7 separate regions of the Homo sapiens genome follow, and all the other regions are linked to region 4. Evidence: promoter capture Hi-C in human tissues and cell types (Jung and others, 2019). All regions are on one chromosome and are shown on one strand. Each heading gives the region's core, a stretch centred on a gene start or on the middle of the fragment in contact. The rest is flanking DNA. Distances are from core to core; before and after follow the strand shown. Region 1 overlaps ENOX1 (ecto-NOX disulfide-thiol exchanger 1). Region 2 overlaps ENOX1 (ecto-NOX disulfide-thiol exchanger 1). Region 3 overlaps ENOX1 (ecto-NOX disulfide-thiol exchanger 1). Region 4 holds the start of ENOX1 (ecto-NOX disulfide-thiol exchanger 1). Region 5 overlaps ENOX1 (ecto-NOX disulfide-thiol exchanger 1). Region 6 overlaps ENOX1 (ecto-NOX disulfide-thiol exchanger 1). Region 7 overlaps ENOX1 (ecto-NOX disulfide-thiol exchanger 1).

Region 1 (3,607 bases), core at 734-3,233, 390 kb after region 4:
TAAATTCCCATATTAGAATGAGTTTGAGTGTTTCTATACTGATATAAGTGTGTGTATATATGTGTGTGCATGCATGTGAATTATTGTATATTGGATTTTTGCATTGGGTTAATGTCAAAGTCTTTTATTTGTAACTATGGATTAATTGCGTAGGGGACTTCTGCTCCAGATCCACTGTTTGCTTTTATTTCCTTTTATTATTCTGCAGCCTGCCTTCTAGTTTACAGTGTGTTACATACTGCATTCTTGAATTGTAAGCACATGTCATTTATGTGCTAATATAATTATTCTATCATCTGTCTAACAGACTGTGCTGGACTTCTTCTATGGGAAAGAACTGTAGCTAATCATCTTTGTATTTCCTCTATCATTAAAGCTGGGTGCTTGGTAACTATATAGTTGAATGAATATGTAATTTGGTTCATTTATATAAATAATTACATAAAATGCATAATACCTGGAAAAGTCACTTTTATACTTGGTCCTTAGACTGTCTAAACTATAGATTTTCTGTCTTCAATCAGTTAGATATGAAGAGTAACTATGACCTCCAGCCCCCTTATTTGACATCCATGATTTATTTTTCTCATAATTGAGCATTATATTTTCAGATTCCTTCTTTTTTAAAAATGTATCTTCCCTGTCTTTCTTTATCATGGTTATGCTTTCATCTACCTTCTTGCACAGATGGAGTATATTTATAATAGCTGTTTTAGTGTGCTTATCTACTGATTCTATTATCTGTGACATTTCTGAATCTCTGTCTTGATTGATTTTTATCTTTATGATAGGTCTTATTTTTCTGTTTCTTTGCATGCCTACTAATTTATTATTGGTTGCCAGACGTTGTGAATTTTATGTTGTCAGGTGCTGGATTTTTTTTTCTTTCCTTTTTTGTCTTCTTTAAAATATTTTTAAGTTTTTGTTTGTTTGTTTGTTTGTTTTGAGATGCAGTCAAGTTCCTTGGAAACAGTTTGATTCTCTCAAGGCTTTGATTTTATACTTGGGTTAATGGATCTAAGCAGCCTTTAGACTGGAGATAATTTCATCCGGTTTCTGAGGCAAAACACTTCTGGGAACTCTTTCCTGGCATATTGCGAGGTTGCTTCTCTCTGGATCTCGAGAACTTGAGCTACTCCCTGTCCTTTGTGAGCTTCAGAAAGGTTCCATCTGTGGCTTTTGCCCCAGCCTTTGCACTTCCCTCTCCGTCTCTCCTAATCAACATGCAGCCACAGACTCTGAGGGGACCTCTGAAGATCTCCAAAGCTCTCTCTCTCTGATTGGCTCCTTCCTCTCTTGTACTCTGCCCTGAAATTTCCAGGGGCATTGGTTTCCCCAGATGTCTAATTCAGACAGACCTCAGGCTCTGTTCTGGTTTCTCTTCCTTGCATTAAGCCCTGGAAACCTTCTAGACAGTGGCTGGGACTATCATAAGTTTCACTTCATTTATTTCCCGTCTCTCAATGATCACTATCCTGTACTTTTTGTTGTACAGTATCTGAAAACCGTCATTTCATATATTTTGTTTGATTTTTGAGTTGTTTAAAGTAGGAGAATAAATTCTATCCTTGTTACTTTCTGGTGGCTGGAAGCAGAAGTTTACAGACAAAGTCTTTTTAAAGTGAATGTATGTATTGCCTAGGGATATAAGAAGTTAAAGATCTGGGGCTATGATATGAGTGACTTTACTAGGAACACTAAAAAGAATAATAATAAAACCTATAATTATTTGGCACCTAATATGTGCCAAATACTCTAATATCTTGCATCATTGAATCCTCTGCTAGCTAAATATTATTAACCCCATTTTATAGATGAGGGAACTGAGTTTAGGTGATGTGAGTTAACTCACCCAAGGTTACTCAGCTGGAAGGAAACAGTGCTGGAATTGATAACCAGGTCTATCTGCCTAAAGTGTTTCTACTGTATTAGGATTTGGGGGCAAATGATTAAAGCAAAGTCTCCTACGTTTTTTGCCTAAGGCCAGCTCTATCTTTACACTTTTGTTTTTAAAAATAAATACCTTGGGTGGAAAGACATCATTCGTGGTGGGGGTAGGGGAGAATCATAGAGATTTATTTGTATTACATTGAAATTTAAAGATTTCAATTATGTAATTATTATGCACATCACTTTTTGTTGTCCTTGAATGCTGCAGATTTCCATTTTCGAACCTGGGTCCTGTGATCTAGATATTGTACTAAAGTTGAACCAGGAACAACTTAGTAACATCAAGTAGACTTCTATGAATAACACTATGGTGGTCATGCACTCAGGTTTATGACAATAACCAAAAAGTGATCATCAGTATGGGAGAGAATATATACATTGCAGTCTGAAAGCAAGTAACACTCTCTCAAAGAAAACAGAAACTTGGAATTTTTAAAGTTTAACACAAATGAGATGGACTTGAGTCAACCTATGTACATCCTGCATGGGAAGTCCAGAATGCAGAGCAGGTGGGATTGCTGATTTGGTAACTCAGGTGGAGGGAGTTCCTGGCTAATGGATTCCATTTCTCAGAAAAGGACAGGCATCTGCTGAGGATAAGTGGGCTGATGAGGAATGGAAGGTTGGAAGAGAAGGGAGAACCCTTGAAGGTTTCACTGGGGGAGAGACAGGAAGCTGACCAGAAAAATATGGTAAAATGTCTGGACACTCTTTGAGAGCCCTGCGTGGTTTTCTCCAGCACTGTTGTGTCCTCCCAGTAGGCAGGCACAGAGAAGGAAGTTCTCTGTGGGTTTATCCAAGGTTGGATTTTAACAGGTGGTGAGAATGAAAGGACAAGGGCACAAAGAAGGCATGAGCATTTTCAGGAGAGTAATTTCAGAGCTGGACTACACACTCCTACAAGAGTGGCAGTGGAGCCATGAAAAAAGGGGTGGGCTGATGAGGCAAGAAAGTGGAGGGGTGGCTGGATGGGCAGAGCTGAGGATGGCAAGCAGAGGGTTGGAAAGATGGGAAAGTGCAAGGACAGAGGGGCGTTAGCCTATTACAGCAGTATGTGGGGATCCTTTCTGTGGTCTTTCAGGAGAAAAAATTTTTCCTTCAACATTGAGGAACTGTCTCTGCAAGAGACAGATGGTGGCTTTAGAGCCTGAGGTCTTAGGTTTGAATCCAGGCTTGTTCCCTTAGCTGCGTAAACTTGGGCAAGTTAGTTAACTTCTCTGAGTTTGTCTGTAAAGAAGGAGGGAATAATCATCATCAGAGAATTGTTACCTTTTCTAGAATCGGTGAAGTGTGGTACATATTATAGGGATCAAATGTGTTAGTTTGTGTTACCCTCATTGGAGAGCAGTTTAGGAAGGCACGGGGAAGGGGAGAAGAGTGACCTTGGATGACTTTCTATTTTAAGGGAATGAAAAGAGAAGACTTGGCCCCTGTAGAAAATGATCCCCTTGTCCTGACATCTCCTATTGGAGGAGAAGTGACAACCATTCTCTGCAAGCCACGTGGAAGCACCCACATGTACCCAATGCACACCCACAAATCATAGCTCTGTGACACTATAGCTGACCCTTGGACAAAGCCAGGATTAGAGCTGCTCACCCCCACACAGTAAAAAACTTACATATAAGTTTTGACTCCCCCAAGACTTAACTACCAG
Region 2 (3,165 bases), core at 642-3,141, 500 kb after region 4:
GAATAGTCATCAAGGGAAACTTAAACAAGTTAGTGCCCAATCTGGTCCTCACTTTACAGACCACCCATCTCACTCAATTGATCAGTGAATACACCCTGCATGGTCAAGTTCTTATCTATGTGCAGCTTCTTCCATCTGGTAATTACTGTCTGGTTTTTGTACTTTCTGTTTCTTCTCTCTGTGTCTCTGACTCTCCTTCTCTACATATTTCTATCTCCTCTTTTATAATTGCCTCTCATTACCTCTCCAGTTTCCAGTTTTTGCGCTTTCTGTTTCTTCTCTGTGTCTCTGTCTCTATTCCTATCTCCCCTCTCTCTCTTACACACACACACACACACACACACACACACACACACACACACCTTTAACAAATAGCCACAACAGCCTTATTTACTGGGGAAGAAAATAAAGAAGAAAGTATATTTGAACTTTGTCAGTAAGTTTCCAAGGAAGAGTGTAATAAGTAGCGCTTATAAATGAAAGACCAACACAGTGACTTTTCAAAGAGATAAAAATAAATTATCATATTTTCTTCTTCCTTTTGTTCTCTTAATTCATCCTGCTGACCCACCAGACAACTGCATTCTATTTTTTATGCCCTCCACCACCATTACCATCTTAATTTATTTTAAACCAGGTATCACTCAGATTCAGTCAGAGTGGCTTTCGTTGGCCAGCTTTGGAATTCTCATTCATGGTATTAAGATATGTATATTTCCACCCATGATTTACATTTTATACTGAGTCATTTGCTGAGTCAGTGTGTTACACATTTTTCAGTCATTTAAACATAGGGTGGTATGCCATGATTTTGTTCTCTCATTCTCCGTGCACCTTGTCCTCTTCTCTCTGGTGTTTATATTTCTTTCCTAACGGTTTGTATTTCTTATCTTCAGTGCCACTTAACTTCACTTTCAGGAAGTTTTTGTAAAGGCCTAACTGTGAAGTCCATAACATTGTAAATATATACTACTATAAGCTCAATATGTAGGACATATAAAGAAAATCATACTTTTCAAATATACTGGGAACATTTACAAAAATTAATCCCATACTAGGCCTTAAAGCAAATCTCAACAGATGTCAAAAGAGTGGTATTGTATTTTTTTGACCACACTAAATTGTTAGAAATCAGTGCCAAAAATAACTAAAATAAATTTTGTATATCTGGAAAGTTTAAAACATACATCATTTTTACAGCTTCAAAAAGAAATCAGAATTAACTTAAAAATACTTAGAAGTAATTGATAATTAAAACATAATATATCAAAACTTGTGGGACGCAGCTAAAGCAGAACTTAAAGGAAAAATTTAAAACTTTGTTTTAGGAAAAAAAACTAGTAACAGTGAGGTAAGCATCCAATTTCTATTGAAAAAAAAATAGGCCAGGTACAGTTGCTAACACTTGTAATTTTAACACTTTGGGAGGCCAAGGCGGGAGGATATGCTTGAGCCCAGGAGTTTGAGACCAGCCTGGTCAACATACTGAGACCCCATCTGTACAAAAAAAAAAAAAATTAATTAGCTAGGCATAGTAGCACGTGCCTGTGGTCCCAGATAACTGGGAAGCTGAGGTGGGATAATTCCCTTGAGCCTGGGAGGTCAAAGCTGTAGTGAGCCATGATTACACCGCTGTATTCTCCAGCCTGGGTAACAGAGTGAGATCCTGTCTCAAATAAACAAACAAAAAATAATAAACACAAAGTAGAGGGGATAATACAAAGAATAAAAATAACTAAAATAGCAACCAACCATACAATAGAGAAGATCAACACAGCCAAATGTTTGAAAAGATGAATAAAATGGAAAATCTTTGGCAACATGTATCAAGAAAAAAAGAGAACAACCTAAAAACAGTATTAAAAATAAGGTATAACTATAGATGCAACAGAGACTAAAGAAATATAAGAATATTAGGAATAGTTTTATGACAATTTTTTAACTTTGGAGATACAGACAAATTTCAATAGGAAAAAATAACTAATCAAAACTGAATTGGAAAGAAATTGAAAGCTCGAATTAATAGCTTAAATTTTTTTTTTTCTTTTCTTGAGACCGAGTCTCGCTCTGTCACCCAGGCTGGAATGCAGTGGCGTGATCTCGGCTCACTGCAACCTCTGCCTTCTGGGTTCAAGCGATTCTCCTGCCTCAGCTCCCGAGCAGCTGGGACTACAGGTGCATGCCCAGCTAATTTTGTATTTTTTTAGTAGAGATGGCATGTCACCATATTGGCCAGACTGGTCTCAAACTCCTGACCTCGTGATCTACCCGCCTCAGCCTCCCAAAGTGCTGGGATTACAGGCATAAGCCACCGCGCCTGGCCAATAGCTTAAAATTTTATATCAAAGCAACAGACCCAAAATTGCTTTATAGGCAAGTTCTACCAAACATTTAAGAAAAATAATACCAAGGGTGGGTGTGGTGGCTCATGCCTGTAATCCCAGCGCTTTGGGAAGCTAAGGCAGGCAGATCCCTTGAGCCCAGGAGTTTGAGACCAGCCTGGGTAGAATGGCAAAACTCTGTCTCTATAAAAAATTTAAAAATTAGCCAGGCATGGTGGCACATGCCGGTAGTTCCAGCTACTCAGGAGGATCATTGAGCCTAGGAGGTCGAGGCTGCAGTCGAGCCACTGCATTCCAGCCTGGGCAACAGAGCAAGACCCTGTCTCAAAAAAAAAAAAAGAAAAAAGAATACCAATCTTTAACTAACTCATTCAGAGAACACAAAAGGAAGACACACTTTCCAACTAATTCGTAAGGCTAGTATACTTAATACTGAAATAAAACAAGGACAGTTAAAAGTTAAAATCAAAAAATTATAGGCCAGGCTCAGTTATAAACAAAGATTTATAATTCCTTTAGAAAAGCAAAATTAATCTGGTATTTTATAAATCACCAAATTGGATTTATTCTAGGAATGCAAGGTAAGTTCAACATTTGAAAAATCTATCAATGTAATAGATCTCATTAACAGGCAAAACCAGAATAATACAAACATTTTGATGGCCACCAAATATCCATTCATGATTTTAAACTAAAACAACCAAGAAAAATGAAGGTTTTAACAACTTGGAATAGAAAGGAACTTTCTTATCCTGTTAAAGGTTATCCCCAGCAACCTCAGTGACAAAATGTGATTTTTTTAACCTTCCCAGATTAATCCCGA
Region 3 (3,440 bases), core at 103-2,602, 330 kb after region 4:
TATGCTGGTATCATGGTATAGTCCTGCAACCTAAGGATTAACTTATCTCTGTTATTTTCTGTTTTGATTGAGCACTGGGTAGCCAGTCTGACCACTACATAGTTGATTCATGTTACTTATTGATTGCCAAAATTGCCAGAGGTACCCTGGTCATTCAACTGTCTTTATAATCAAGGCAAATCCACTATGCAGCAATTCAGTCAATGGTTTGGTGTTCATCTGTCTAAAATGTTGATGGTACCACATAGGGACAAGATAAAATAGCTCATTTCATTGAAATCGTAATAGATTTTTCTCCCACTCTAAAATTTGTATGCTGCTATAGGAGGGAGCATCAATCAATCAAAATTAGCACATATTCTGTTGTTCTTTTCTTCCTTAAAACATTTAGCTGAAGTTGTAGAAACTCAGAGAAACATATGTTAGAGTGGGAAGTCGCAGAGCAACTCATCCAGTCTTTTCCAAAGTATGTCAATAAATATTACCTGAAAGAAAAGAAAAAAGGGGGAGAGTCTGTAGTCAAGTAAGTTTGTATAACGGAAGGTAAAACAAAATGGGACAGATACCTTGAATAAACTCATATGTGTTTCAAAGCTTCAAGAATGGGGAGGGGGAGGTGTGAGACGATCGAGGTGTGTTTCAAAATCATCTAACCACAGAACTCTTTGTCCTGAACACTTGGAGGGACTTCATATAACCTCCTAATTTTGTAGTTAAATAGAATTCTAAAGGGGTCAAGAAACTGATGCTGGGCCAAATATTTTCCTTTATTGTTTTTGTCCAGTCCTCCCTTTCCCCTACTTATATAAAAGTAGATAGCAATATAATGATTTTCTTAATATAATCAATATATCAATATAATGATTTTCTCAATTTTCTGTAAGAGCTCTGCACACCCCTTTTCAGTGGCTAACTGATGCGTTGCTTCCAGGTGACCAGCTTACCAGTGATGCGATGCCTAAAAAATGGAAATGAAAAATTAGTCAGTTGGAAAAGATGTACTTTTAGACAGCTTAAGGTTTCAATATCATCTCATATTCTGACTTGAATAGCTTTTTTTAATTGGGTACCTACAGTATGCCAGGTGCTTTATATGCATTGTATGATTTAATTCTCATAAAATCCTGCAAAATAGAGAATATGTCCATTTTCCTATCGGGGAGTTTATTTAGTAAATGGAAGACAGGGGATTTAAAATAAGGTCAATCTGACTGTAAAGTCAAGCTTTTTGTTAAGCTCAAAGATATGATGATGGCTACATTGGAAGTGATGTTGTTGACAACATAGTTAACTTTTTTAAAAAAGTTATTGGTCCATAATTGAGTATGACAGAGGATAGAGGACTACATAATTTGAGCTAGACAAATTTATAAGAAATATAAGCAGGAAAATAAACATATATTCAAGTAAAAGGATTACCTGCAAGCTAACATAAATTTCTTTGGGAGATGAGGGGAGGAATACACACATATATACCTTGGTACATACATATACACATATATTCTTGAGCCAAAAAATAGATATATTTCAGAGTGGTAAGAGTCAGTATATAGTTAGAAGTTGGTCTGGACATGTAATTGTGAAAAATCATTATGTGATAGGTTCTGTTGCAGGCTATACTGCTTTTCATATGCATTTTGGGTACATTTTGTTGACTGATAAAACGTAGTTTGACCATTAACATTCAGTGACATAAATTGCTTAACTGCCTTCCAAGTCAGTGATCATTGTTTGGAATTATCTTAAAGCCAGATGATTTTCCGAAATTTATCTTCTTATTTAGTGAACATACATAGCTTTTCTTAGTATAGTTATTTAGTTGGGCCAGTCTTCCTGCTGTTCTGTTTTAAAATCTTTTATGTCTGTTTCCTTTTTCTCCTTCCCCCTCCCTCCCTTTCTGCTTTCTTTCTTCCCTCCTCCTTATAGTCTTCCTTCCTTCTTATTGATAAATTGATATGCGTCTACCTCAAATTGATTATTTGTCCAAACTTCTGGAGCCAAGATAACAAAATGCTGTTATCTGGATAAAGATAACATTTATGGAAAGTCAACTTGACCTTGCCTGATAATCCCTAAAAAATAACAAAGAAGTAAAATGATTTTGTCAATACCCTCCTTAACAGTAGTTGTGAGGTGGTTACTAGTTTGTCCAAGTAACTCATAAAGTTCTCTGGACAAACAAACTAGACCAAAACAAAATACATAAGTACATATAACTACAAAGTAAAATGTATAACACTAGAAACTTCTGGTTTTATTAGATTGAACACATGCTTTCATATCTTCCTGTTCCAGAAATCTCACTAAAATTAGTAAAGAATAAAAAATAAATCTCATTAAAATTAGTAAAGAACAAAAAATAAATCTCACTGAAATTAGTAAAGAATTTTAAAAACCACAAAGCAGGGACACAAAGCAAATGAGAGAACAGAGGAGAGGCTACTGAATGTGAGATATCAGGCAATTTGTGGAAGACAGCAGAGTGATGGAGGAGGAATAGCTGAGGTGCACTGAGCAAAGCCTTCAGATTCATGCACGGGATGCTGTGGAGGCTTAGGAGTCATGAGACTGGAAAAAGGAGAATTGATTGCCAGGAGCTTCAGACCAACAGAGTATATGGAGTAGTTAGGCCCTGCCCTCCCTAGCTCACACTGACTCTACCAATTCCCCAACCCTATGTGAGGTATCAGGGATAGTCTTAGGCTACATTGAATCAGAGATACTCTAGACTCAGGGATTGGGCCCAGGAGAGAGGATGAAACTCCACAGAGAGAACAGGTGAAACCCTCCTGGACTATTCCCTGACATAGCTCCCAGGGAACCTACAGCTAGGGACTGGCTCCTTAGGCAGGGGTTTGGAGATTCTTATCTGCAGAAACTCAGTCCAAAAAATGACTGATTGGCAGAGTCCCTGTTGAAATGGTTAGATTCCCCACTCTGTTACCTCGGAGGGATGCCAGTCAAGGAAAAAGCACACCCTGTCTACACTCAGGGTTTCCCTTGGAAACTAGACCCACTGTTTTTAAATATAAATGAATCGTTTGTTTCATATATAATGTATATATATGAAATAAACATATATATTTCTTAAATATAAATGAGTAATGAAGGGCCATCAGATATTTGAGGATATCCACTGACATAAAATATAGAATAAAATATAGAGATCAAAACAGAGAAAGGGGCTAAAGGAGCTCAGAGAAGATATAGATATTTCAGGAAGCAAATGAAAGCCTTTAAAAACCTATAGTAACTTCAGAAAGATGAGAGATACTGTTATATCTATAAAATAAAAAGCATTCTATAGAACAGGAACAATTAGAAAATAAGAAGGAGGTATTGGAAATTAAACTTATAGAAGAATATAAAATGATTCAGAGGTATAGAAGTCAAACTTTCTAGAAAGTAGATAGTCCAAACGTTTTCACACTGCTGATAAA
Region 4 (3,413 bases), core at 765-3,264:
AAATTGAAGACTTCTGCTTCTAAGACGATGATTGTAGAAATACCGAGGTCGAAGGATGTGGACTTGGTGCTACACCAGACAGCAGAATTAGCAGTCTGGGGTGACCCTGCATGTATTGGTCAGTGTCCATGAACACTACTCTTTACAGGAGAAAAATGCGTACCTGATAAGCTATTAGAAATGTGTATTTCTGGCCTGGAGCGGTGGCTCATGCCTGTAATCCCAGCACTTTGGGAGGCCGAGGCAGGCGGATCACTTGAGGTCAGGAGTTGGAGACCAGTCTGGAAAACATGGTGAAACTGTGTCTCTACTAAAAACTAAAAACTAAAAAAAAAAAAAAAAAAAAAAAAAAAAAAAAATTAGCCGAGCGTGGTGGCCGGCGCCTGTAATCCTAGCTACTAGGAGGCTGAGGCAGGAGAATTCGCTTGAACCCGGGAGGCAGAGGTTGCAGTGAGCCGAGATCGCGCCACTGCACTCCAGCCTGGGTGACAGAGCGAGGTTCCGTCTCAAAAAACAAAAAACAAAAGTGTATTTCTCTTAAAACTGTTTTCCCCATCCTTCTGCTCTAGAAGGGACAGTATAAACTGCTGGTGAACACTGACTTTCACATTTTGAGAGGTTAGGTTCTGAGCTTTGGCCCCCTCACACCCAGGGCATCCCACTGGGGTCCCTGCAGAGTGCTTCTACATGCATCCTTTGTTAAGGGTGCACAATGGATAAGTATTATTTTCTTTCTTTGCATTGGGGTTCTGACCGCCAGGGGGAAAAATAGCCACACACAAGGAAATGGCATAAGTTAAAATCAGGCAAGCCTAGTGGGGTGGTAATGACTTTCCCAGCATCCAAGTCTTTGCCTTCAGGTTACGTGAAGCTAGAAAACAATGTCATTCATTCAACATTTACAGGGAACTCACAAAGTACAGAGTACTATGCTAAGCACTGGAAGGCATGCAAAAGTGTGCAAAACACAATCCCTGCATTGAGGATTCCTGCCAGAAAGGGTATTTCAAGTATTACCCAGACCTTACGACCCTTGAAGAAATGCTTGTGTGAATAAAATCCCACTCAGAATTTAAAATAAGCAAGGAAAAGTATACTACTAAGACAATATATCTGTTAAGAGGCAGAGAATGTAAATGTGCTTTAAACATTTATTTCTGAAGTATTACAATGTAGTTGGGATGGAGGATCGGGGGATGTGGGTGTGTGTGGGGAGGTGGTGGGAGCGGTTCTTGGACGAGCCTGACTCTAAGGAGGCACTGCTTAGATGCCTGCACAGCTAAGTTGAATCCTAACAAAGAGGAGGCCGGCATTCTTACCTGGGAAGTGGGTAACTTTGAGAAAAAGTAGCCTCCAAGGAGGAAAAAAAGGCAACATGTCACCTGGGGTTAGGATCCCCTCACCCTTACCAACCTGAATGCTGACCGCACCCCGGCCGAGCCACTCTGGGCCGCACACCCCGCATCATCTGCCCAGGCCACGCGGCCCAATTCCACCGTCTACCCCAAGCCCACAATCCTGTAACACGCCCGCTCCAGCCTGGAGTCGGCCACGTGCGCCCGGGTTCTTCTCTTGGCCCTTCAGCGGGCCCGGCCCCTCCAAGGTCGCCGTAGCAACCGTGCGGTCCCTCTCTCGGTTCCCCCGCTCCCAGTAGAGCAGTCCCGACCGCGGCGGCGGTGGCGGGAGCGAGCGGCCTCGGCCCCTCCCGAGAGGGGGCAGCGCGACCGTGGGCTGCGGGCGCCGCCTCTGCTGCATCGGTGGCTGCGCGCTCCGCTCGGCTCTGCCGGGCTGGGATCCGGAGCCCTAGCGCGCCTCGCTGACTTCCCCTCCTCCTCTGCTGCCGCCCCGTGGGCAGCTTCTCCAAGCGAGACACGCGTTCGATCCTCCTTCCCCGCGTTTACGGATTTCCGGGGTCGTAGAATTTTGCCTCGGTCCCTACGAGCATCTCTCGGCCTCTCTCCCCCTCCCCTCGCGACTCCCCCACCCCGTGGGCGCGCGCGCACCCATACACTCACACTCGCAGGCGCGCGTGCGCACGCCCGCGCGCCTCCAGCCGCGGAGTCTCCAGCGCCCCTCAGCAGATCCCCGCTCTCCCGGGCGCCGCTACTCACACAGGCTTCCAGCCGCCACGGGGCGTCCTCTGTCTGCTGCAGCGGCGGCGGCAGCAGAGGGAACGGCGACTGCAGCCCGGCCGCGTCTCCCAGCTCCGTGCCCGGGACAGAGTCCGGGAGAAGCAAAGGAGGAGGAGGACGCCGAGGCTAGGAGGAGCCGCGCCGCGCCCGGCGCCCCACTCCGCGCAGCGGGTTGCCTCCGCTCCCCATACGGCGGCCCCAGGTAAGCAGCTCCGGGGCCCGCAGCCTCCCTGGGGCGTCCGGGCTCCGAGCCGGGGTCCTCTGGTCTCACCCCCGCCACGGCACCTGGATCTAGACTGAGAGGGGAGTGGGCGAGGGGGGAGGGGAGTGGAGCTAGAGGTGAGGCTGGTGAGGAGGGGTGCGTGGACGCGTGGGGGCTTCGGTGCAGCCCCCACGCCCTTCCCCGCCGTGCCCCGTCTCAAGCTCCCTCACTTTTACGCGCCCGGGGGTGCCCAGCGCCCCAGACAGCTGTTCCCCGCTCTCCCCTCCGCCCGCCAGCCAGTGTCAGCTCCGGGCTCCGCGCCCGCCGCGCGCCAGTCACCTCCCCTGCACCTTGGACAGCGCACCCCGCACCCGTCTCCCCCTGCGGGCGTCGCCCCCGGGACCCGTTCCTGCCCACACAGTGTTCCCGCTGCCCTCTTCTTTCAGGTTTTCACCCTCCCGCTCTGCATCCCTTTTCCTCCAGCCTTGGCGGACTCCGCTCTGCTGCGGGCCGGAAACTTTCCTCCCCGCCTAGTCTGCGCTGGGTACTGTTGTTATTCGTGACTGTCCCCTCTCGCGGGGAGCTCGGACACCTTGGACAGGTCTTCGTCGGCGGGAGCGCGCCCTGCCTGGCCCAACGCGAGGTAAAGGAGGCACTGGGGCAGCCGGACTCGGCCGCTGCCAGGGTGCAGAGCCCGCGCCTCGGCCGCTGGACGCCGGCCGCCTCCCCGCCTCTCCGGACCCGACACGTGCGAGCCTCCCACGGACGCGGCCCCTCCCAGACCACCCCACGTCCTCCCCCTGCACGGCCACAGCCACCCCATAGGTTGGACACCCGGGGCTCGCGGGTCCTGATTGGCTGAAGGCGTAACCCCGCCCTCTTTCGGAAGGGGGGTGGTTCTGGAGTGTTGTGGTTGTCATCCCGCGGCGAGCACATGGGGAAAGTGGGGTCGACAGGTGGGCAAGCCCAGCTCTGTGGAATCTCTGCGTCTCACTGTATAGCCACTGAGCCACGCTTCTTCACCCAGATACACTCCTGCTTCTCTCCTTTTCTCTCCCTCAATCTTTCACTGCTGTAAC
Region 5 (3,132 bases), core at 10-2,509, 400 kb after region 4:
CACCTGCTGGAAGGAGAGAAGAAGGATGCTCAGAATTGAGAGTCATTAACCTGCAGGGTGGTGTCCAGAAGGAGAAAGCCATTGCCCAACAAATTCATGCATTCTACTAGCAACATACTGGCTTTGTATTTCTTTCAATAAAGAATCTCCACAGTGCCAGGAGAATTCCTGTTGATGGTAATGGTGTCATTGCTCGTTCTGCTGAGAATCCTTTCTGTAATTGCAGCCCTATAAACAACAGCAGCAGGAGGCCATGAGGGAAGTCTTTGTGGAGAGTACCATGGGGTCTGTCGCCTTTGAGTAAATAGACCCTATTTATTGAGCATGCAGAATTTATTTAAAATACCAGTTGTAAGGGAAGCAAACAGAAGCATACATGGATTTCCTATGGATTGCAAACCCAAAATAATAATAGTGCAATATTAATAATACTTACACTAGCTTTATCTTAATATTCATTTTAGCACCCAGAATGATGTTTCTCTCCTCAATTCTATTTTAATCTGAAATATAAACAGCTGAAGGTTTGCTTGCCTTGAATCATTATTACCGTGAAGTTGAGCCATCTGTGTTTTTCTTATTCTGCTCATGGCTCCAAGGAGAAGTCTTGAAATTTAACAAGTTGGGAGAAGAATTTCTGTGGAGTAAATTCAGATATACAATGACACCTAAAACCCTGCAAGTTTTTATCTTATTTTGGAGAAATTTCCTCGCTTGGATTGTGTTGAGAGTGAGAATTAGCATCACTCTACCAAATCATCGACAGTCTTCAAAACCCTTTGAGGTCTGGTACCATGTTTTATGCTAGATTTTGTTCAGTTCATCCATAATCCCCAATATGCTGCTTGCTGACTTCTAAAACTATAGAATTGGCATATAACTGGCTGTGTTTGTTTAATTTGAGATCTATTAAGTATCTCTTGTTAGGAAACTAAAAAGCTTTATATATGCATATCTGATGCTTTTAAGTTGCTGCCAGGGAGGACAACCATGCCCTCCTATCATGCATTCCCTAGTTGAAACCAAGACCTTGGCTGGATATAGCTTGGTTCACTGTGGCAGTGTTTTCGTTTTTACCTATGACCTAAAGTATCTGTTATATTTTATAGCTTTAATGAATTGACATACAATAAATTGTACATATTTAAATTCTACAATTTCATAAGTTTTGACATATGTATATACTTGTGAAATCATCACAATCAAAATAATGGACATATCAGCCACACCAAAACATTTCCTGTTCCCTTTGTTATCTCTTCCTCCTACCTACTCAGACCCCCTTTCTTACTCATCCCCATCCTGAGACAACCACTGATCTTCTGTCTCTACAAATTATTTTGCATTTTCCAGAATTTTATGTAAATGAAACCTATAGAATGTACTCAGTTTCTGGTTTCTTTCACTCAATATAGTTATTCTGAAAGTCACGCATGTTGTCATATATCCTGATGGCTGAATAGAAATAGAGTGGATATCCTTGCCTTGTTTCTGACCTTATGAAGAAATACCATTTTAAGTATGATCATATGTGTAGTTTTAAAGTACATAACCTTTACTGAGGAAATTTCCTTTGATTTTTAGTTTACTGAGAGAATGGATGTCAGATTTTCATCAGACGCTTTTTCTGCATCTATTGAGATGATCGTGTGTGTGTGTTTCTCTTTTTTAGTCTACTACTTTGGTAAATTACGTGAATTACTTTTTAATGTTAAACCAACCTTGTATCTCTGGGATAAACTACTCAGTCATGATGTATTATTCATTATACTATATTCAATTTGCTAAAATTTTGTTTAGAATTTGCATCAAAGTTCATGCTGAATATTGTCTATAGTTTTTCTTTCTTCTAATGTTTTTATCTGATTTAAGTAACAAAAGTAATGCTGGAATCATAAAGCAAATTGGAAGGTATACCCTTTAATTTTCTGGAAGAGTTTGTGTAGAATTAGTATTATTTTTTCCTTAAGATTTAACCTCTACTAGAGTAGGATTCTCTAGCAAAGTCATCTAGGCATGAAGTTTCCTTGTGGGAATAATTGTAACTACAAAGTCTACTTCTTTAATAGATACAGAGCTATATAGATTATTTGTTTTTCTTTCAATGAGCTTTGGTAATTTGTGTTTTTCAAGAAATCTATTCCAAGTTGTTAAATTTATTGACATACAATTTTTGTAATATGCCTTGATATTTATGTATGGGAACTGTAGTTATGTTACATTCCTTATGTCTAATATTAGCAGTTTGTATCTTCTCTGCTTTCCTGCCTAAGGCTGGCTGGAGTTTTATCAATTTCATTGATCTTCACAAAGAACTAGCATTTGGTTTCATTGATTTTCTCTATAGTTTTTCTATGTCACTAATTCCTGTTCTTAATTTTTTTTTCTGCTTATTTCAGGCTCAATTTGCTCTTTTTTTTTTAAGGTTTTTTTTTTTTATAAGATAGAAGCCATGGTCATTGATGTAAGACCTTTCTTCTTTTCTAATATAAGCATTTAGTGCCTTAAACATTTTTAAAGTACTGTTTTAGCTGCATATCATGAAATTTTATTTTAATTCACAGTACTTCTAAATTTCCCTTTTGGTTTCTTGTTTGACCTACAGGCTATTCAGAAATGTGTTATTTATTTTCTAATTATTTGGTGACTCTCTAGATATTTTTCATCACTATTTTATAATTTAATACTATTGTGGTCTCAGAATACACTTTATATGATTTGTGTTTTTGTAATTTTATTAAGGTTTGGTTTATGCCCAGAATATGGCCAATCTTGATAAATATACCCATGTAATCTTGAGAAGAATGTGTTTTCTGGTTTTGTTGGGTGAAGTACTCCATAGATGTCAGTTAGGTCAAATTGGTTGATATTATTTAGATTTTTATATCCTTACTGATTTTCTATGTACTTGTTCTAGCAATTATTAAGAGAGGGTTGTTGAAATTTCTGACTGTTAATTGTGGATTCATCTACTTCAGCTTTCCATTTTATTAGTTTTTATTTCATATATGTTGAAGTTCTGTTATTCAGTGAATAAATATTTGGGATTGTTATATTTTCTTGTTAAATTGACCTCTTTATCATTATGAAATGACTCATTTATCCATAATTATATTTTTTATCTGAAATTCA
Region 6 (3,374 bases), core at 432-2,931, 350 kb after region 4:
GGTTTTTTGTCTAACTGTTAGAATTGATCATTAGATATAAATGACAGGAAAGCTCTAGATTTATCAGACTTCAAGGTTCAGGCTTCTGAGATCTATTAATAGATAAGGAACAGGAACGAGGTTTAGCTTCTATTTCTCAGGCTACACCTCTGTGCCTAATTCACCCTTTTAGATATTTATTCCCTATTTTTAATTTTATTTGCTGATGTAAGGGGCTGTCTTACATAACATAAAAATTTTGGGAGTCAAAGGTTTCCTCGAGGTAAAAAATATACATATATATAAACATGTTTTGCCTATAGCTGTATGCTTTTGATTATTTCTGAAACCATTTTCTGAATCTATAATACACTCATGGATGTACCTATAGGCATATTGAAAATAATGCATTGTGGCTTCAAATGTTTCACCAGAAAAATCTGGCTCGTTGCTCATTTATTGACTGAACGTGTGTGTTTTGCTAGGTCAGTGCTTACATACACGATAGTGAACAAAAGAAACAGAATGCTTGCTTTCATAGAACATCAGTCTAGTAGGAGGAATAGACATTGAGAAAAAAGTAAATGAAAAATATGTAAAAGCACACAAAAAATGTTAAAGAACGAGTTGCTATAAGAAGGGATGTTCATCAATAATGTAAAAAAATATAAGAAAAGATTGAATTTGAGTGAGTCCAGTAATCTCTCAGCCAGTGTTCTGTCTGCAAGTTGAAGCCAGGAACACTATAACATCACATTTGTGGACCCTTAAGATTAGAAGATAGGAAGGCCAGGGACGGTGGCTCACGCCTGTAATCCCAGCACTTTGCGAGGCTGAGGTGGGCAGATCACGAGGTCAGGAGCTCGAGACCAGCCTGACGAGCATGGTGAAACCCTGTCTCTATTAAAAATACAAAAATTAGCCAGGCGTGGTGGCTGAGGTCAGAGAATCACTTGAACCTGGGAGGCAGAGGTTGCAGTGAGCCAAGATCTCACCATTGCACTCCAGCCTGGGTGACAGAGTGAGACTCCGTCTCAAAAAAAAAAGTGAAAAAAAAAATACAAAAAAATTAGCCAGGTGTGACCCACGGGTGCCTGTAATCCCAGCTACTCGGGAGGCTGAGGCAGGAGAATTGCTTGAACCCGGGAGGTGGGAGGCAGAGGTTGCAATGAGCCGAGATTGCACCACTGCACTCCAGCTTGGGCAATAAGCATGAAACTCCGCTCAAAAAAAAAAAAAAAAAAAGATTAAAAGACAGGAAAGTTCATTTAGTAAATTTCTCACACAATAATACACTGTTGAGCATAGAAAGTCAACCAGCTGCTTCTTCAAAAATTTCAAGAAGCCCTCTCCTTCCCTTCCTCCTTTTAACTAATCACTCAAAGAGCTATGGATCGACTGTATACTACAGTGGCTGTCAGATTTGGATGCATATCAGAATCTCCTTTGGAGCTGTTTTAAAAAATGCCTGCACCTCACATCAGATCCACTAAATCAGAATCTCCTGGGGGTGAAGACCAAGCATATGCATTTGGAAAAGTCTCCTCAGGCAATTTGATTCAAGTCCAATGCCCATCAGAGGTTGAGAGCCACTGTGTGCCAGGCATACAACATAGCTTTGTGGCTACTGAGGGAAGCAAATAGCCATCCAGGGGACAGATACATTTTTGTATGGTTTGTAAGTTTAATATTGAAGCATTTGATTGCTCTGTGGAAAACTTACATTTTCCTCCTGAACTAAACTAATCCTTTAAGTGTTCTTGTGCCATGGAAATCCCTATTTTTATCCAACAATTCCTTTGAGGTGGAAACCTGGGATTCATTTTTGAATGTTACCTTCTTGGGCCCTCACACATGTCACTCACTCCCTCTCACTTCCACATTCCAATTGCTATCTCTTCTGTCTCCAGAAGTACCTCTTAAATCTGTTCCCTCTCTTCATCTCCGCTGCCACTGCCTCATCTTGTCTGGTCTCCCATAATTACCTCCAAATAGATTTACCCTCCTCAGGCTTGTCTTCCTGTAGAGCTTACTCTGTACTTCTCTAAGAATTATTGCTCTAAATTACAAATTTGACCCTGTCACTCCCCATTTAAAATATTCCATTTGGTCTCCATTGCCTGTAGGAATTAAACTCCTTAGCATGACCCCTGCCTACATTGTTAGCATCGTTCTCCACTTTTTCACCATGTTCCCTTTAAACTACAGCCAAACAAAAATACTCATTTTCTGTATCATGCCACATACTTTTCACACAGAAGTATTTTTGATCATAGTGTTGTCATGCCTGAAACACATTTTAAGGTGTTTTATTATCCCTCCCCACCAATTTTTTCCTCTATTTAACCTTGGAGAAAATCTAAAATTACCTTCAAAGTTAATTGTTTTTTCTTCTGTGTTGTTTCTGTTAACCTGCGTTTTAATGCATTTACCCATTTATCTGCTTTATACTGACCTATTTTTCCAGGTCTCCCTTCTTTGGAGTGAGTTTCTTGTTCACCTAGAATTTAAAATGGTGCTGCACACAGTGGAAGTTACTAAATATTCACTGAATGAATGGGAAAAAGAATGGATGACCCTGAAATCGGTCCGCCATAAACCCTAACCATTGGCACTAAGTCCATTCTTTGGCGTATTGCTTAACTAATCTAGTTCACCTTCTATATCCGCTTTACTTCTAATATGTGAAAATCAGTCTCATCCTGTATCTTTTGCCCCAGGTCACAAACCTAGTAAGTTGTCATTCTAAAACTGGCACCAACTCTTTGGAATTCCGGTAGTCATTATGGGTCATTTCCATAGTTGCACTAAGTTCTCAAGGTCAAATGATTGAATCCCGATAAAGTTGCCACAAGCTCAGATTTTCGGGAAAGGAAAGTGGAAGCATTTAACCTAGTGTCATATTATGTTGGTTGCAGGATTGGGTCTTACTGGCTTGTTCTGTGAATGTCTGATGCTAGCTCTGGGTTGGTGAGTAAATCCCCCCATCACCACGTCAGGCTGAAATTCCATGCGTATTTTGTTTATTCTACCCTTCCCAATGTGCGGATTATTTTGCTTGCAGGGGTGGATTCACAAAATGGGAGTTGAACAGTTCTGTCATCTTTGCTATTTATTGTTAATGGCCTTCCCCAAAAGTATTGCTATTTTTCCTTGTTCTTCTTTTGAAGACTTTAAAAAATATGTTCTATAAACATCCCTTTGGTATGTTTTTTCAAAATGTTCGATCCCAGTCCTGTATTTAGGCCTCTTCAGCATTCTTCTAGGAATTATTCCCACACACTGGTGTTTGTCTTTACCCTCGTGTCCTTGGTTCCATTTATTACTTGTCATTTTAGAATCAAAATTCATCAGAGAAATTATTGTAAGCCATAGTGATTTCTACAGTGGCATCT
Region 7 (3,407 bases), core at 418-2,917, 370 kb after region 4:
CAGGAAGCAGAAGTATCTCCCCTACTATTCATAATTGCTTAAAGAATCAAAGAGTTAATACATAAGCATACCTACTTCACAATTATCTATATTGTTTTAAACCGTGGAACATTTCCATAACCTCGAGAGTATGGCACTGACTATGTGAAGATCGAAGTTAGGTATTTCCTTAGTGATGGAAAAGGAGAGTGAACTTTGGAAGGAAATGTATCTTTCTTTTTACTGTAAATATATACCATGATAATGCTAATGGAGAGTTCTTATAAAATAAGAAATTTGCTGATACCATATGAAATAAGCTTCCTTTGGTATCAGCTCTTTTCTTTTTGAGATGGAGTTTCACTCTGTTGCCTAGGCTGTAGTGCAGTGGCTTGGTCTTGGCTCACTGCAACCTTTGCCTCCCAGGTTCAAGCCATTCTCCTGCCTCAGCCTCCCAGGTAGCTGGGACTACAGGTGCACGTCACCACGCCCGGCTAATTCTTGTATTTTCAGTAGAGATGAGGTTTTACCATGTTGGCCAGGTTGGTCTCAAATCCTGGCCTCAAGTGATCCACCCACCTCGGCCTCCCAAAGTGCTGGCATTACAGGCATGAGCCACCGTGCCTGGCCTGGTATCAACTGTTTACAAGACATTAAGAAATCTGATTCTTTCACCACAATTATTTTGTTATTGAAGTAGGTATAAACCTAAGGACTTAGACCAAACAAAATCATGCTTTTTTTTGGTTTTGTTTTGTCTTTTTTTAAGACAGGGACTCAATCTGTTGCCCAGGCTAGAGTGCAGTGGCACAATCTCAGCTCACTGGAACCTCTGCACCCCTCACTCCCCAGCTCAAGCAATCCTCCCACCCCAGCGTCCTGAGCAGCTGGGACGACAGGAGGGCACTACCATGCTTGACTAACTGTTTAAGGTTATTGTAGAGATGAAATCGCCCTATGTTGCCCAGCCTGGTCTCAAACTCCTGGGTTCAACCAATCCTCCCACCTTGGTCTCCCAAAGTGGATTATAGATATTAGCTCCTATCTGGGGTTGTAGATATGAGCCACCACACCCAGCCTTTTTCTTTTTTTCAATAAGAAGGATTTTTCAATACCTAGCTGATCTCTACCCTCCTTTAACAGGAATCTGTGTTTTGTGGACAATTACAGGTAGGTTTTATTATTCATGATGTGTGCATCGCTGATACCTATAGAAATTGTTCAAGCGATTCTCCTGCCTCAGCCTCCCGTGTAGCTGGGACTACAGGCACCCGCCACCATACCCAGCTAAGTTTTGTATTTTTAGTAGAGACGGGGTTTCACTATATTGGCCAGGCTGGTCTCAAATTCCTGATCTTGTGATCCTGCCACCTCAGCCTCCCAAACCTGTGCCATTTTTTAAGCCAAATAGTATTTTCATAGACTTGATAAGTTTCAAAAAATATTTGCCCCATTATCTAGCCCAATGAAATACTGAACATAAATATATTTTGTTGAACAGTTATGAAATTGGTATGAGATTTTATACTTGAATATATCTTAACAGGAAACAAGTTAGATATCTGTTAAGGCCAAACAAAGCTGTACTTTTATCCTTGGCATTTTGTGTATCAGATTGTTTTGTGGTGCTCATACTTCATTAAAGCTGTAAGTAGAAACTGCCAATTTCATAATTGGTCATGAATCTCTTGAAAGTTTTTGTAGTTGCATAGGCAGAAAAAACCTAGAGAGAAAATATTTATACATCTTTTAAGTTACATCGTATTATTTATTTTTATTTATTTTTATTTTTTTGAGACAGAGTCTTGCTGTTGCCCAGGCTGGAGTGCAGTGGCACAATCTCAGCTCACTGCAACCTCTGCCTTCTGGGTTCAAGCGATTCTCCTGCCTCAGCTTCCCAAGTAGCTGGGATTACAAGCATGCACCACCACACCCAGCTAATTTTTATATTTTTAGTAGAGATAGGGTTTCACCACGTTGGCCAGGCCAGTCTCGAACACCTGACCTCAGGTGATTGGCCCGCCTCCACCTCCCAAAGTGCTGGGATTACAGGCTTGAGCCACTGCGCCCAGCCTTAAATTACATTATATTATTTTATGTATTTACTTTTTTAGAGATGGAGTCTCACTCTGGCAACTAGGCTGGAGTGCAGTGGTGTGATCTCGGCTCTACAACCTCTGCCTCCCGGGTTCAAGCAATTCTCCTGTCGTAGCCTCCTGAGTAGCTGGGACTACAGGCATGCGCCACCATTGCTGGCTAATTTTTGTATTTTTAGTAGAGACAGGGTTTCACCATTTTGGTCAGGCTGGTCTCAAATTCCTGACCTCAGATGATCCACCCGCCTCGGCCTCCCAAAGTGCTGGGATTACAGGTGTGAGTCACCGCACCTGGCCTACCTCATATAATTTTATAAAGGAATGGTGGAAAATGAAATATTGTGCTCCAACTGAGGTGTGGCACAGAAAACTAGGGCAACACTTACTTTTAGAAATATCAAGTGTTACTCACTGTTTTAGAATTAATTACATAATTATCTACCAGAACACAAAGATCCCAGGGTATCTTAATGGAAACACTACATTTCCAAATAAAATAGTAATAATTATCACCTACTGTATTCAGAGTGCTTTATTAGCTATAATTTTTAACTCCCCACATCTCTGTGTGTAAATAAACATCGCTAAGAAGATTAATCTTTTCTATAGTTTAGAAATAATAAAACTAAGGCAGAGAAATTGATGTGAATGATAAATTAGGCATTATGGTCTTGAATCATTTAAAGAGGCAGGTATTCAATAGGAACAATAGATGCTAACAAAGTACCAAAATCATTCTTGCAACTATTCATAAATTACTAGTTGGTAATTAATTAAAAGTATTACCTTTCTTCCAAAATGAGTGACCGAATCAACTTAAATTTTGTGAACAATGTCACGGCAGCCTTGAGACTATTGGAAATTCCTAAGATGTGACAGAGCTTACTTTAGAATCACCATCCCAGGCACATGGTAGCCACAGTAAGTTGTATGTCATTAAAACCATTAGATTGGCCCTCTCCCTCTCCCTCTCCCTCTCCCGTCTCCCGTCTCCCGTCTCCCGTCTCCCGTCTCCCGTCTCCCGTCTCCCTCTGTTGCTGAGGCTGGACTGTACTGCTGTGATCTCAGCTCGCTGCAACCTCCCTGCCTCGGGCTCCCCTGATTCTCCTGCCTCGGCCTGCCGAGTGCCTGGGATTGCAGGCGCACGCCACCACGCCTGACTGGTTTTTGTATTTTTGGTGGAGACAGGGTTTCACCCTGTTGACCGGGCTGGTCTCCAGCTCTTGACCTCGAGTGATCTGCCCGCCCCGGCCTCCCGAGGTGCTGGGATTGAAGACGGAGTCTCACTCACTCAATGCTCAATGTTGCCCAGGCTGGAGTGCAGTGGCGTGA

Evidence for each region. The method cuts DNA at HindIII sites, captures the fragments that hold promoters and counts their contacts. A contact is called where the count stands out against the background at its distance.
Region 1: a fragment that was not itself captured here is called in contact with the fragment with the promoter of ENOX1 in region 4 in 3 of the 25 tissues and cell types used here (hippocampus, mesenchymal stem cells and spleen).
Region 2: a contact is called between a fragment that was not itself captured here and the fragment with the promoter of ENOX1 in region 4, in 1 of the 25 tissues and cell types used here (mesenchymal stem cells).
Region 3: a contact is called between a fragment that was not itself captured here and the fragment with the promoter of ENOX1 in region 4, in 2 of the 25 tissues and cell types used here (dorsolateral prefrontal cortex and mesenchymal stem cells).
Region 5: a fragment that was not itself captured here is called in contact with the fragment with the promoter of ENOX1 in region 4 in 3 of the 25 tissues and cell types used here (hippocampus, lymphoblastoid cells and mesenchymal stem cells).
Region 6: a fragment that was not itself captured here is called in contact with the fragment with the promoter of ENOX1 in region 4 in 2 of the 25 tissues and cell types used here (dorsolateral prefrontal cortex and mesenchymal stem cells).
Region 7: a fragment that was not itself captured here is called in contact with the fragment with the promoter of ENOX1 in region 4 in 1 of the 25 tissues and cell types used here (lymphoblastoid cells).

Annotation. Positions count from the first base shown.
Region 1 is chr13:43,399,230-43,402,836 of GRCh38, reverse strand. All of the region lies in intron 5 of ENOX1 (ecto-NOX disulfide-thiol exchanger 1), which reads left to right. Among named protein-coding and RNA genes, the nearest start is that of ENOX1-AS2, 48 kb to the left of the region's middle. The HindIII fragment of the contact is 5,494 bases long and covers 1-3,607 here.
Region 2 is chr13:43,281,969-43,285,133 of GRCh38, reverse strand. The region is part of intron 12 of ENOX1 (ecto-NOX disulfide-thiol exchanger 1); the gene reads left to right. Among named protein-coding and RNA genes, the nearest start is that of ENOX1-AS2, 170 kb to the left of the region's middle. The HindIII fragment of the contact is 6,665 bases long and covers 1-3,165 here.
Region 3 is chr13:43,455,975-43,459,414 of GRCh38, reverse strand. The region is part of intron 3 of ENOX1 (ecto-NOX disulfide-thiol exchanger 1); the gene reads left to right. ENOX1-AS2 (ENOX1 antisense RNA 2) reads right to left here. Exons shown (of 4, transcript NR_120399.1): 3 at 945-958; 4 at 1-485. Among named protein-coding and RNA genes, the nearest start is that of ENOX1-AS2, 8.8 kb to the right of the region's middle. The HindIII fragment of the contact is 4,663 bases long and covers 1-3,440 here.
Region 4 is chr13:43,785,573-43,788,985 of GRCh38, reverse strand. It overlaps ENOX1 (ecto-NOX disulfide-thiol exchanger 1), which reads left to right and starts at 2,014. Exons shown (of 17, transcript NM_001347969.2): 1 at 2,014-2,334. The HindIII fragment of the contact is 9,406 bases long and covers 1-3,413 here.
Region 5 is chr13:43,380,778-43,383,909 of GRCh38, reverse strand. All of the region lies in intron 5 of ENOX1 (ecto-NOX disulfide-thiol exchanger 1), which reads left to right. Among named protein-coding and RNA genes, the nearest start is that of ENOX1-AS2, 67 kb to the left of the region's middle. The HindIII fragment of the contact is 4,530 bases long and covers 1-3,132 here.
Region 6 is chr13:43,436,892-43,440,265 of GRCh38, reverse strand. The region is part of intron 3 of ENOX1 (ecto-NOX disulfide-thiol exchanger 1); the gene reads left to right. Among named protein-coding and RNA genes, the nearest start is that of ENOX1-AS2, 10 kb to the left of the region's middle. The HindIII fragment of the contact is 6,833 bases long and covers 1-3,374 here.
Region 7 is chr13:43,416,892-43,420,298 of GRCh38, reverse strand. The region is part of intron 3 of ENOX1 (ecto-NOX disulfide-thiol exchanger 1); the gene reads left to right. Among named protein-coding and RNA genes, the nearest start is that of ENOX1-AS2, 30 kb to the left of the region's middle. The HindIII fragment of the contact is 4,481 bases long and covers 1-3,407 here.